Regions from separate parts of the Homo sapiens genome. Here all the other regions are linked to region 1. Evidence: promoter capture Hi-C in 16 types of primary human blood cells and fetal thymus (Javierre and others, 2016). All regions are on one chromosome and are shown on one strand. Each heading gives the region's core, a stretch centred on a gene start or on the middle of the fragment in contact. The rest is flanking DNA. Distances are from core to core; before and after follow the strand shown. Region 1 holds the start of LHFPL3 (LHFPL tetraspan subfamily member 3). Region 2 overlaps LHFPL3 (LHFPL tetraspan subfamily member 3). Region 3 overlaps LHFPL3 (LHFPL tetraspan subfamily member 3).

Region 1 (4,688 bases), core at 1,250-3,749:
TGGTCTGATCCTAGTTGCTGTTGACAAGAGTGGACACTTTGAGTGTGCCCCTTGGCATGGTGATTCTGAACATGAACCCAGAGGTGATTCCAAACCTGGAATGAGAATAAGGCTTTCCTTGGGCATGACTCAAGTAGAAAAGCTCTTTGAATCACATTTGAATCTGAGTCACCCACCAGTCTTTTCTTTGTCCCATAAAGGCAATTCAAGCATTGAGGTATAAACCAGGCTTTTTGATTCTCAGCCTTCCCTTCTCAGCCACCTCACATCTCAACCACCCCATGGAAACAGTAAGATTTCTTTCAGGCATTTATTTTAAAGAGAGACTACTTCATACAACCAGGTTTGGGGGATTTGAGGGCTTAAGAGAGTTACTAGAAATTACTGTCAGTTCTTGCTGTAAAGCTATCTCTGCCCCTGGGACGCATGGCCTGCCAAATGGCCTCATAAATCTGATTATTCTCCTTTCCTTTTTCTCTTTCCATGTTAAAATTCTTCTGATTTACCAGCAACTTCAGGAGAGTTAAAACAAATGAAACCTAACAGAAATTCTGACCCTCCACTGCCACCAATGCACTCAAGATGCATCATCATGAACTGTATTTTTAGAGACTTGCAAGTGTTATATTGGGCTAACTCATATTTTGGTCATCTTTGTCACCTCCTCCAAATCCCTCTGATATTTATTTTGAAGACCTTCTGAGAGTCTACAACCACACTTGCTAGAAATTCTTACTCACTTAATCTTACATGTCTCATGCTACTGTTTAATTCTGTTCTCTTGATTTTCAAAGCTCTGTCTGATGGACCTTGTATTACAATGGACCTTGTATAAGATGGACCTTGTCTGATGGACATGTATTACAATACATGAATTACATGCCTATAGAAAAAACTGAATGGAAGATTCTGAAAACTCATGCTTTTAGATGCTTTCCCCAGTTTCAGCAGCAGCCCCTTCATTATCTTATGTGTCTCACACCCCTATTCCACTTTCTCCCCCTCCCTCTTCATAGAATCTCAAATCTTCAGACTATCAAATGAAAAGCATAATTTTCATCACTTAGGTTATGACCCTTCTACCATAGAATAGCCGTTGATATAGCCAATTAGGTAAGACTTAGGGTCCAATTCTATCAGAATTCTCTCTGATAGAAATGCTCAGAAAATTCTGTGATCATATGGTTCAAAACGATTTGTTACCAAAATCCACTCCTACAATTAAGCATTCTGGTTTCATGGCTGGGGGTGGGAGGCAGTTACATGTTTCTTTATATCAGAATCAGAAGGAAACAAACAAAAAAACCAACGGAAATAGGGAAATGCAGTTTGAAAAGTAGAAACTGTTAAAAGAGCAACAGAAAGACTGTTAAAAGGGAAAACATAAGCTAAGGAAACAGCACGAAGGGCAGGTGTACAACAGCAATGCCATGTGAAAATGTAAGGAATTCTATAGTGGTAATTCCGGGATAAATTAGCCTGAAAACAGCTCTCTGGTTAGCTTTGGGTTGTAGGGGGAGATGGAAGTTCCTGGACAATTAACCATCTGCTATGTCTTTTTGTACCCTTACCACCCAGCTCAGCGTCTGGGCACAGAGTAGCTGTCAATATTTGTATAGTAAGTGTAACACTGGCCGAACTACCCTGTTTTCAAACAAACTATAAAATTCTGTGACACAGTCCCTTCCAAGCACACACAGGCCCAATCTATGGAAGGAATTATCGGGGAAACGACCTAAAGGAAAGTATGGGGCATCCATTGGCTACAGTTCAGCTGGCTGCTTGGGGGAAAAACGCAAAGAGGACGCAAGCTCAGCTGTGCTTGATGTGAGACCACCCTTGAGATTTGTCTTTTACATTATTGTCTGCCAGGCTCCTGCGCAACTTCTATCTCCACCTGTGGACCTGAAGGCAACCGAGGAGTTAGCCAGGGGCAGTTCTGTGGTAACAAGAAAGACTCTTGGGGGCTGTATGCCTCCACTGCCTTGGCGCCTCTTGCCTGCAATTGCCGCGCTGCCCCTCGTGCCTCTGCAAAGATGCAGAGGTCGAAGCACGTTTCTGTGCGGTGATGAAATGCTCGCTGAATCAGCCTCTCGAGCCCGGCCTCTCACACCCACCAGGATCCTGGGGTTGTCTCTAGGATCCCTGTGGGTGCTCCTGCCACCTTCTTAGACTACCCTCGCCCTCCTAATCCAGGCCCACTTCTCTGGCTCATGTCCACCCCTTGATGGGCGTTCCGGGGTCGTCACTGTCCTCTGCGCCCCTGGGCACTGGCAGCGCGGGCCGGGCAGCGGGGAGGGAGGCGGGAAGCAGAGCGGGAGGCGCCCCGGGCTTGCGCGCCGCGGTGCTCCACGAGGGATTTGCCGCCTTCAGCTGCAGCAGCTGCAGCGGCGGCGGCGGGAAGAGGGGTGGAGGGTGGTGAGGAGGGCCGGAGCCCGGGCCAGGAGGGAGGGAGGGGAGCCGGGAGGCTGTGCCAGGCGAGCCGGAGGGGTGCTCCGCGCTCCCCCGCCCTCCTTCCGGGAGCGAGGATGCAGACTCTGAAACTGGTGCTGCTGGGCTGAGGCGGAGGCAGGGGAGTTGCAGCGCGCGAGGCTCCGTGAGTGTGTCTCCTGCGCGCTGAGAGGCGGGGGGAGGCGGAGGACCAGGAGGAGGAGGAGGAGGAGGAGGAGGGGGAGAATGCCCGGAGCCGCCGCCGCTGCCGCCGCCGCCGCCGCCGCGATGCTCCCGGCTCAGGAGGCTGCCAAGCTGTACCACACCAACTATGTGCGGAACTCGCGGGCCATCGGCGTGCTGTGGGCCATCTTCACCATCTGCTTTGCCATCGTCAACGTGGTGTGCTTCATCCAGCCCTACTGGATAGGCGACGGCGTGGACACCCCGCAAGCCGGCTATTTCGGGCTCTTCCACTACTGCATCGGCAACGGCTTCTCCCGGGAGCTGACCTGCAGGGGCAGCTTCACGGACTTCTCCACGCTGCCCTCGGGCGCCTTCAAAGCCGCCTCCTTCTTTATCGGCCTCTCCATGATGCTCATCATTGCCTGCATCATTTGCTTTACCCTCTTCTTCTTCTGCAACACGGCCACTGTGTACAAGATATGTGCCTGGATGCAGCTCACCTCCGGTGAGTGCGCGCTCACCTCCGCGGAGGCGGAGGACCCCGGGGCGCCCGAGCCGGGGAGGGGCCAGAGTGGGAGGGACGGGGGCTGTGCGCGCCGCTGCGAGCCAAGCCGCCTAATCCGCTCAGGCGTCGAGGTGTGGGGGGCGGGAGCCCAGCGAGGCCGGAACCCCCGGGGTTCCCCAGCCCCGGCGCTGGCGCCTCGTCCCGGGGCTTTCGTGAGCCTCCCAAGTGTGGGGGACGCCCACTCAGAGGGACGCCCCGGAGGCAGGGCGGTTGTGGGGCCGAGTCCGCTCAGAACTAAGGATGGTGGGTGGAGAAGTGGCCGCTTAGAGAGATGGGGCCGGGGTTCCGTGCTGAGGGACTAAGGAGGGACTGACAGGGCGAAGTGAAAAGCGGATTTGGAGAGGTCATAGTGGAAGGAGCAGCCAGCCTGCCCTGCCCCTCGCTGCTGGGACTATTTCTGTCATTGATCCTGGGAAAGGGGGCGGGGGGCGGTGGCTGGAGTGATACTGTTTCTTTCCATCCCGGGCAGTTAAATATGTTTACTCCTCCATCCGGAGGTGAAGAGATCTTAATTCTGTTTTGGGTTTCCCCTTGTAAGAAGAATGTAGCTTAGAACATTCTTTCGCAATTCCTCAATGTCAAGTCTTCAGTTTGCCTCCTTGTCCGTGCAAAGTTCCTTCCATTTCATCTTTAAACAGAAGTCTTTAGTAAATCAAGATTCCTCAAGATCTCATTTTTGGGAAGTGGCTTTGGGGAAGTAGGCAGAGAGGAGAATGTTTCATTAGCATCTCCGATCACTCTTTCCCTGTGGATGATAAATTGTTGCTAGCTGGAGGATATGAAAGTACTTTTTTTCTGTGCATCAAAGTTACTTTTAACCCAGAAAGGATGGGGTACATTTCCTGGTGACTTTGAAGAGTCCTGAAACAAAACTGACTCCTTGCTGTACTTCCCCTGATGGCGATTGCCTCTCTGCCAGCCAGCTTGGATGCCCTCCCTTCTAAAGTCAAGGGTCCAGTGGTCGTGACACATTTCTGTTCCAACATTGTTGAGGTCCTTTTGATTTTATGGATGGTCTGGTTGTAGAAGGGCACTGAATATCTTAGGCAGCTAAAGTTTTCATTTGCGTTTTCTTTTACTGTTCTCATTTTTAAGATGTTTCAAGATTTTGTCGTTTATTCTATTCCTGGGAAGGTTTTCTGGGGAGAGGGATTCAATCCCTGACAGAGTGTTGTAGGATGAGTAGATACTTAAAGGTGCTGGACAATAGCGTTAAGGTTCATAGTCCTATATTGCTAGTTTGATAAGGAAAGAGAAGCTTGTGGGAGACTACACTTGTGTGAAAGTATTTATTTTGTGTTTTGGCTCGCCTGATATTGATTTGCCATATATTGTAAAAGTGTGTATGTGAAAAGCAAGAAATGAGCAGCAGTAGAGACTCCCTCCTTTACACATACCATTATCTCCTGAACGGGGAGTTCTGCGTCTCCTTCTGCACCCCCATCCCCAACTTTTTCTAGCAATTCCTCACTCTATGTTTTTATATATAAAGTTAACTTTTATGGCC
Region 2 (4,688 bases), core at 607-3,106, 510 kb after region 1:
CTTGTGAACATGGAGGGACATCTGATTTACATTTTTAAAGGTACTCCGTGGCTGTCTTGTTGCTTTCTTCTATTGTCACTGGGCGTGCTGGCCCCATATGCTAAGGCACTTATTGTCTTTGGAAGAAGCTAGCCCACGCAGCCACGCAGGAAGAACTACCAAGATGCCATCAAACTCTCATCTAAAAAGCCTACTGTTCTTTTACCATTTGTGCTCTTAGGAAGTAACAGGATGAAAGCAGTGATGGAAGCAAAAGTTGACCATCTGCCCTGAGAATTGAAGTCCAGGAAAGATCATATCAGGGCTACGGTGCCATGAAGGTTGGGTCCTACATTCTGGCACTCTGTTTTTTATAAGTTCACTATGCTCTGCTACCCATTCTGATATTCCAGAGCTGAAGGATTTACCCCTGCTGAGCAGAGATGAGCCAGGTTAACTTTTGGGGTGTACAACAAACTGGATCTCAAGAATATTTGACTATTTTGGTTTGTTAGTCTACACAGAGTTGCTCCTAGGAGCCATGGCTTGTAGGATGTCAGTTTATCTCTGACGACAAATGAAAATTACACCCAGTCTTGTATCTGGGTTCTGAAGCTAATGAAAATGTGTTTGAAGATAATCCCACGGCCAGATAATAGTAAGATGAGGATCTTTTCTAATATTTCATGGTGATGAAGATCTCCGTTCCATTAGGAAATATTCAGTGTGTGCACAATGAACATTGGGCAGGGAATCAGAAACCCTGAGATCTGGCTTCATATCTGCCACCGATGGGTTGTGTTTAAAGTTTGGCAAGGTACTTCGATTTTGCAACTTAGTCTACTTGTCTCTAAAGGAAGGAACTTGGATGACTTCATCCTGGATCACTCTCAGCTCTCATGTTTGATTGTCCATGTGCCATTACCCTGATTCCCTGCTGGCCACATTTGTGGAATGGCTGGGCTAAGAGCAGAGACGTCTGATCTACCCTAGAGCTGATTGGACCACACAGGGATCATACCTACACCTTTGACTTCTTTAGCACCTTTTCATTATCAATTGAACCAGCCATCTGCAATGAGGAGGAGTGTAGCTTAAGTAGGTTTATCTTCCGCACTAAACTATATACCCTTTAATGCTATAGTCACGAAATTGTACTAAATCTTCCCTGTGTATTTTATATTATTCAATCCTCATTAATAATCCCATAAAGTAAGTGCTAACATTATCCCCAATTTAATGCAAGAAACTGAGCCTTGAGGAGGTTGAGTAGTTCACCTGAGGACACACAGCTAGAAAGCACCAACTTTATTTTTTTTTATTTTTATTTCCATAGGTTATTGAGGAACAGGTGGTGTTTGGTTACATGAGTAAGTTCTTTAGTGGTGATTTGTGAGATTTTGGTGCACCCATCACCTGGGCAGTATACACTGCACCCTATAGAAAGTGCCAACTTTAAACTCAGTCTAACTCAAAGCCCACACAGGAATTTAGCTGCCACATTCCAGTGCCATTGCTTACTTATTTTACCATATTCCACAATACTTATCACGGTGTTTGATAGACATTATTAGACGTTCAATAAGTGATTCTTGAACGAATAAATGTTTAATGCTAGCATGCCTTCAATATAACCTTCAGAAACTATATAAACATGTTATATTAACAAACAATTATAACCTTGTTAACCAGAAGTCTTACCCACTCTACTTAGACTTAGTATGGAATTGCTCATGAAACCAGCTCCAGTAATCAGAGCTTAACCTACATAAGGACTTACGGGTATAACTTACCTCAATGACCCTGGCCATCCTGCAATTAGCCATCCTTTTGGTTCTCAACTGGAGGGATACGGCTGGTAAAGATATATGAGAACCATTTGAGGAACTTTTTCAAAAGACAGAAGTCCTTTGTGCCACACCTGCCCTCTCTAACTAATTCTAATCTATCTGGGGAGGGAGGAAATGGCTAGTTCTGTGCAAGTTCTCAGGTGTTTCTGATACATTTTGCTGTGTACTTCCATCTCTGCTCCTAACCCTACATATACACCTCCATTGAGAAGAGCTACCACTGTAGTGAAAGTCAGCTCTATCTCCATTTAAATGAAGTCTGATTTCATTAGAATCTAAATTAAGTGATAAGGCTGTATGTGGCTGACTTGAGTATAAAGACACCCAGAATTCCAACTGTATTGTTTATTAATTATTTTACAGATGAGTTTTGACTGTAGCTGACATATTTATGTTTCATTGTATCTTTTCCAGAATCTGACTTGTAGAACAAAGTACAGAGCTTGCTTTCAAATTTGACTAAAGCATAATAGGTGTTATAAAGCAGCACCGTCTTGCAAAACAGTGACGGAAATGTTCTTTATCTGCTCTGTCCAATTTCATACCATAGACACATGTGGCTTTTGAGTGCTTGAAATGTGTCTAGTGAAATTGAGGAACTGAATTTTTGTGTTTTATTTTAATTAATTTAAATAACCACATGTGTCTAGGGACTGCTGTGTTGGAATGTGCAAGTACAGAGAAACATTGCTTCATCTTTTTAACCAAAATAATGTAGTTAATACCAGAACTCATTTCATGTTTTTAAAAGTCACTTTTAATAATGTCTAAAGCAAAAACTGAAACAATGCTGTAAGAGCCCAGAATAAATTCTAGCATGCTTACATTTCCACCAGGGAATGAATTCTTAAAGAAAGAGAATATTCTGACCCCAGAGTAGATGAAAGCAGGTAGGCAGAGAAGAGACACTCCCAAGGGGAGCTCCCTGCAGGTTCCTAGTAGGCTGTGAGACACAGAACAGTGAGACCGTCAAGGAGAGAGAAATTTCCCCTCAGAGGAAAATCTAAATGTGGTTTTAGCCACCTGTCACCCCAGAGGGAGGACAGGATAGCAGTGTTAAATTGGTAAGATTGTAAAACAGGGAGCTTAACTAACCTTCAAGGCCAGCTAAGGTGTATAAAGTGCATTTCAGCCAATGGAACTCCATTCCTGAGATCCTGAGGGTTTCCACCTATATGGCAGATTGGAAACCTGAATTTCTTTTATATTATAAAATTAATAATTTGGGGGCCAAGCGTGGTGGCTCATGCCTGTAATCTCAGCATATTCGGAGGCCGAGGCAGGCAGATCACTTGAGGTCAGGAGTTCGAGACCAGCCTGGCCAATATGGCAAAACCCCCCTCTCTACTAGAAATACAAAAAATTAACCAGGCAAGGTGGCAAACACCTGTAATCCCAGCTACTTGGGAGGCTGAGGCACAAGAGTCATTTGAATCCAGGAAGTGGAGGTTCCAGTGAGCCAAGATCGTGCCACTGCACTCTAGCCTGGGCAACAGAGCAAGACTCTACCTTAAAAAAAGAAAAAAAAGAAAGAAAAAAAATTAAATTAACATTTCTGGCTGTCCACAGAGGCTCGCACCTGTAACACTTGCTTGTGAAGATATTAAGTCTCTCTGCACTCAGAGGGTAGGTTGGCTATATTACTCATATTACCTGATGGGTGTATTGCTTAGAAAACTTTGTTTTTCTATTGAAAATGGGAAGCAGTATGGTGGGGTGGTCCTGGATCATGAGTCAGGAGGTCTACCACTAAGTCTGTCCCTAACAGGCTCTCACTTGTCCTCTGAGTTTTTGTTTCCTAATCTCAAAATGAAGCAAGTTGACTGGATAATTAATATTATTAATTGATCATTAAAATTATACATATTAAGATTAATTGACAATTATAATCAATAATTATTAAGTATAATTATTAATGATGTTAATATTATCATTATTATCCAGTCAGTTTGCTTCATTTTATAGATTAGGAAACAAATCTATAACATTTGGACTGGAAAAATTACCAAGTTCACATCCAGCCCTAAACTTCTTTGACTCTAACACTAAATTACAATACTATCTTGTATTCCTTCTCTGAAAGACTTCTCAATTAAAAATCATTTTCTTGAAGATTCTCATTTCTTTTTTCTGTCTTTTCTTGTGGGTTTTCTTTTTTTTTTTTTTTTTCTCCTTTTGAGACAAGGTCTCACTCTGTCACCGAGGCTGGAGTGCAGCGGCACAATCGCGACTATTACACCCTCAGGTTCAAGCCTCAGCCTCAGCCTCCGGAGTAGCTGGGACTACTGGCACATGCCACCATGCTAATTTTCTTTTCCTTTTTTTTTTTTTTTTTTTTTTTTTTTTTGTAGAGACCAGGGCCTTGTTGCCTAGGCTGGTCTTGAACTCCTGAGCTCAAGTGATCCTCCTACCTCAGCCTCCTGAAGTACTGGGATTACGGGCAGGAGCTACCACTCCCAGGTTCTTTCATTTCTGTCCTTTTTATTGCTACCCTCCCCCCACTGAACACCAAATATCCAGAAGGTGATGCATTTGAAGGAAAATCAGTCAATACTCAGCATTCCACCTATTATCTACTACTACCTAGGAAGTGGGAAATTAAACTATAGAACCCAAATTCCCAGGGTTTAGTGAAAATCACCCAAATAAAAAATACTCAGAAGAACATTTTCATGGTTTTTCTAACATTCTAAATGAATGAGACCACAGTTCATTCAAGTTTGAATAAATCAAATAGAAACATAAAGGTTGTCTTTTTTTTAATGTTTCGAGTATAATAAGTAAGCTTATGAAATGAAATCTCAGCTCATTAGTTGAGCCGCCATGATGAGTGATTTTGATATTTGGTGAGTCCTGTGA
Region 3 (4,688 bases), core at 732-3,231, 390 kb after region 1:
AAGTACACATGTACACATACACATGTATATATATAATCTTTGAAAGGAATATATACCTTTTAAGAACATATAAAAATGTTTAGCTAACATAAAGCCAACTTAAAATATCGAGGCAAAAAAATCAAGCCAAAAAAGGGGGATGAGTATTCTTGTACAAGTGTGTATGGAACAAACTGTATGTGTATATGAAACCAACTATACAAATGTTTATACATGAATTTATGCAATAAAAGCTCATTAATTCCCATTCCACACATTTAGCATTTATAATTATTCTAAAGTTCTTGGCACTACGTGTAAAATGAAATTCTAATTAGGTGAAATTCTAGTGTAAATAAAAGAAATATTTATACATATAAAAACCAACAGTTTTTAAGCGTCATTTTATTAGTAGTTCTTGTACTCAAAAAATGTCTAGTTATAAGTAACATGTTAAGCAATGCCAAGATTCTATAAGTGTTCTTAGTGCTAAAACCAATATTCGAAAGTGATTTCACATGCGTTGTTACTGTTCATATGTAGAGGATAATAAAAGCATAGATTCCAAAAGCATAGACTGCCTAGGTTCAAATCCTGATTCTGCCATTTGTGGACCGTGTATGACCTCGAGCAAGTATTTGACATTTGTATGCCTCTGTTCCCTCACATGTAAAAAAATAATAATAATGTCAAGGTTGGTCGAGAAATAACAAATGGCAGCCTCCTATTTCCGAACCTGACCTCCAAACCAACTGAGAGCGATGGAGGAAGATGGGAACCAAAATAGCCCCTTTATTACAAAAAAGCCTAGGCAGAAGAACATGGCTCTGGCTCTATTAGCCAAAAGGACTTACTAGTCTGCACTCTTAGAATGAGACATACTGAATCTTCCTAATCTCAGCAGGCCTGCCTTCTACAGTAACCAAAACAGCATGGTACTGGTACCAAAACAGATATATAGACCAATGGAACAGAACAGAGGCTTCAGAAATAACACCACACATCTACAACCATCTGATCTTTGACAAACCTGACAGAAATGAGAAATGGGGAAAGGATTCCCTATTTAATAAATGGTGCTGGGAAAACTGGCTAGCCATATGTAGAAAGCTGAAACTGAATCCCTTCCTTATACCTTATACAAAAATTAATTCAAGATGGATTAAAGACTTACATGTTAGACCTAAAACCATAAAAACCCTAGAAGAAAACCTAGGCAATACAATTCAGGACGTAGGCATGGGCAAGGACTTCATGACTAAAACACCAAAAGCAATGGCAACAAAAACCGAAATTGACAAATGGGATCTAATTAAACTAAAGAGCTTCTGCACAGCAAAAGAAACTACCATCAGAGTGAACAGTCAACCTACAGAATGGGAGAAAAATTTTGCAATCTACTCATCTGACAAAGGGCTAATATACAGAATCTACAATGAACTCCAAAAAATTTACAAGAAAAAAAACACCCCATCAAAAAGTGGGCGAAGGATATGAGCAGACACTTCTCAAAAGAAGACATCTATGCAGCCAACAGACACATGAAAAAATGCTCATCATCACTGGTCATCAGAGAAATGCAAATCAAAACCACAATGAGATACCATCTTACGCCAGTTAGAATGGCGATCATTAAAAAGTCAGGAAACAACAGATGCTGGAGAGGATGTGGAGAAATAGGAATGCTTTTACACTGTTGGTGGGAGTGTAAATTAGTTCAACCATTGAGGAAGACAGTGTGACGATTCCTCAAAGATCTAGAACTAGAATTACCATTTGACCTAGCAATCCCATTACTGGTTATATACCCAAAGGATTATAAATCATGCTACTATAAAGACACATGCACATGTATATTTATTGTGGCACTATTCACAATAGGAAAGACTTGGAACCAACCCAAATGTCCATCAGTGATAGACTGGATTAAGAAAATGTGGCACATATACAGCATAGAATACTATGCAGCCATAAAAAAGGATGAGTTCATGTCTCTTGCAGGGACATGGATGAAGCTGAAAACCATCATTCTCAGCAAACTATCACAAGGACAGAAAACCAAACACCGCATGCTCTCCCTCATAGGTGGGAACTGAACAATGAGATCACTTGGACACAGGGCAGGGAATATCACACACTGGGGCCTGTCGGGGAGTGGGGGAGCTAGGGGAGGGATAGCATTAGGAGAAATACCTGATGTAAATGATGAGTTGATGGGTGCACCAAACCAACATGGCACATGTATACCTGTGTATCAAACCTGCACGTTGTGCACATGTACCCTAGAACTTAAAGTATAATTAAAAAAAAAAATCAGGCCAGCCTGATGTAGGATGTATAGCATGGAGGAGTAGAACACATGCTTTGCGTGGACAAACTACTCCTAAGGTAGGGAAAGGAAAGTGTTGGAAAGGTATTCCCAGTTCCTCTTCCCCAGACACTCATCAGGTAACTCATTCCACTGCCATGGAAAGGAATGAGAAGTGGAATAAGGGGCCAAGAGTATTTAAGGAAAAATTCCTCTTTGCAGAAACTGAAGGTGTCAGGAAGAAGTGTTCTCATGTTTCTCTTAGCTTTATTGGAGAATCAAATGAGATGATGCCTGTAAAGTGTGCCCCATACATGGTAAATGTTCAATAAATATTAGCTATTATTATGATGTGTATTATTATTATTAACTATACCATTAGCAGGATTTCAATGAATGTGACTGGACCCTTGGTATGTATCAGAAGCCATCTAGTGGTGCTCTAGAGATCAGAACTGCTTTTAATTTTTCAAGTTCTAAATTCTGATTTTCATTTTATTTGGGTATTAACCCTTAAAATTTGGGTAAATTAGCAAGTGATGTTATTTATTTTTCTGAAACATATTTCAATATGTTGCCTTTTGTCTGGCAACATATTCTATAAAAGGTGTTTCTCCATCAACTAGATAGTTCATACATGCAGGTGTGGACGGACTCCAGATCATCTGCTTACAGCCGAGGTCCAAGGTTTCACAGCTGATACCGCACAATGTGTGGATGTATATACAGATCCTTTTAGTTGAACAAACTGGAGCTACGTATTTTGGCACAGCAGAGAGGCTTTTCTCATCATCAGACACAACATTCTAACTCTTCTCTTTTAAGAGCCCTGTGTTTATATTTTCTTTTCTCCTCTATCTCCCTAAGGGATGTTACATATTTTGTGTTACGACCCCAAGTTAAATGCCCATAAAATTACACTGTGTTTAAAGCCAAAATTTACCAGGACACAATGTGTTTTCTTCACCACACTCTAAACCACAGTATTTCATGTCCTAGATTGTCCAGTGACTCTGTTTTCAGAAGAGACCAAGGTGTAAATATTATACTTTTTCTAGAGGTATAAATATTATAGCTCAAGTTTGTCAGCCACGTGCCAATAAAGAAGTGATAGGAATGAGCCTTCTATCTCTTTTACCAGGTGTTAAGAGTGACAATCCTTGTGTGAAAGTTCCCCCTCCATAGCCTGGCAGTGTCTGCTGGCATCAATTTCTTCAACTACTGTATGCCTGAATAATTGACAGAGCTAAGCGGATGCAGGTTCCTTTTTTTCACCAAGTTCCCCTTGAGTGCTTCAGCAACATGAGGCAATTTATCAGTTTTTTTGTGCAACAGTGCATAGACTTTTTAAAGAATGAATTTAGACTTTCTCCTTCTGTTAAAAAAATAAGTAGTTCTCAGGTTCACAACGTTAAAAGCCCCAAATGGGATAGTCAGACCAGCAGTATCAGCAGGCCCACGTAACCCAAGTCATAGGCCCCCTATTGCTTTTTTCATTTTGCTTCATTTTCCTTTGAAGAAAGACCCAATTACAAAGGTTTGTGGATTTTTCTAAGGATGTTTCCTCCATAGAGGTTACATTCAGCTCTTTAGCAAGAAAAATGCCAGAGCAATTAGTGGCTCTGGGGAACCACTAGCCATTTGTGTACTATTTCAGAAGAGCCCTTTGTGGGCATCAGTAGCCTCTACACAGAGATTCCTTTCAGAATGTAAATGTTTCTTAAACATTTGGAAGATACCTAAAATTGAAATCATCGGTGATATCCTCACAAAGAAGCTTTTGTTGTTTACTCTGTGTCAGAAGATATCATGGCATGGTTTCTTTTCATCACTTCTCTGCTCACCTCCAGCTTGTGAGCTCTCGTTTCTCTTTAGCATTCAAGAATGTTCTCTCAGCCCAGTGCAGTGGCTCACGCCTGTAATCCCAGCACTTTGGGAGGCAGAGGTGGGTGGATCACTTGAAGTCAGGAGTTTGAGACCAGCCTGACCAACATGGTGAAACCCTGTCTCTACGAAAAATACAAAAATTAGTTGGGTGTGGCGGTGGGCACCTATAATCCCAGCTACTTAAGAGGCTGAGACAGGAGAATCGCTTGAACCCGCGAGGTAGAGGTTGCAGTGAGCCAAGATTGCACCATTGCACTCCAGCCTGGGCGACAGAGCAAGACTATGTCTCCAAAAAAAAAAAAAAAAAAAAAAAAAAAAAGATGATCTCTGATATACTTCCAAAAAACCTGCTTGCTGCCAAAATGAAGAAATACATAGCTGCAAGGAGGTTAGTAATTTCCTAGGTGACATTTTAATAAGAAACCCATTTTTGGATAATAGTCCAGTTGAAACTAATTCTTTACTATCCCTCCTGGTCAGGAAATAGCATGTCCAAATTAATCTAATGTCCTGG

What was found. The method cuts DNA at HindIII sites, captures the fragments that hold promoters and counts their contacts. A CHiCAGO score of 5 or more calls a contact.
Region 2: a fragment that was not itself captured here is called in contact with the fragment with the promoter of LHFPL3 in region 1 in 1 of 17 cell types (endothelial precursors); the score reaches 5.0 in endothelial precursors.
Region 3: a contact is called between a fragment that was not itself captured here and the fragment with the promoter of LHFPL3 in region 1, in 1 of 17 cell types (M2 macrophages). The highest score is 5.5, in M2 macrophages.

What each region holds. Positions count from the first base shown.
Region 1 is chr7:104,326,104-104,330,791 of GRCh38, forward strand. LHFPL3 (LHFPL tetraspan subfamily member 3) reads left to right here and starts at 2,500. Exons shown (of 3, transcript NM_199000.3): 1 at 2,500-3,121. The coding sequence starts at 2,677. The HindIII fragment of the contact is 14,292 bases long and covers 1-4,437 here.
Region 2 is chr7:104,836,328-104,841,015 of GRCh38, forward strand. The region is part of intron 2 of LHFPL3 (LHFPL tetraspan subfamily member 3); the gene reads left to right. Among named protein-coding and RNA genes, the nearest start is that of LHFPL3-AS1, 35 kb to the left of the region's middle. The HindIII fragment of the contact is 5,511 bases long and covers 1-4,612 here.
Region 3 is chr7:104,719,259-104,723,946 of GRCh38, forward strand. All of the region lies in intron 1 of LHFPL3 (LHFPL tetraspan subfamily member 3), which reads left to right. Among named protein-coding and RNA genes, the nearest start is that of LHFPL3-AS1, 82 kb to the right of the region's middle. The HindIII fragment of the contact is 4,162 bases long and covers 1-4,062 here.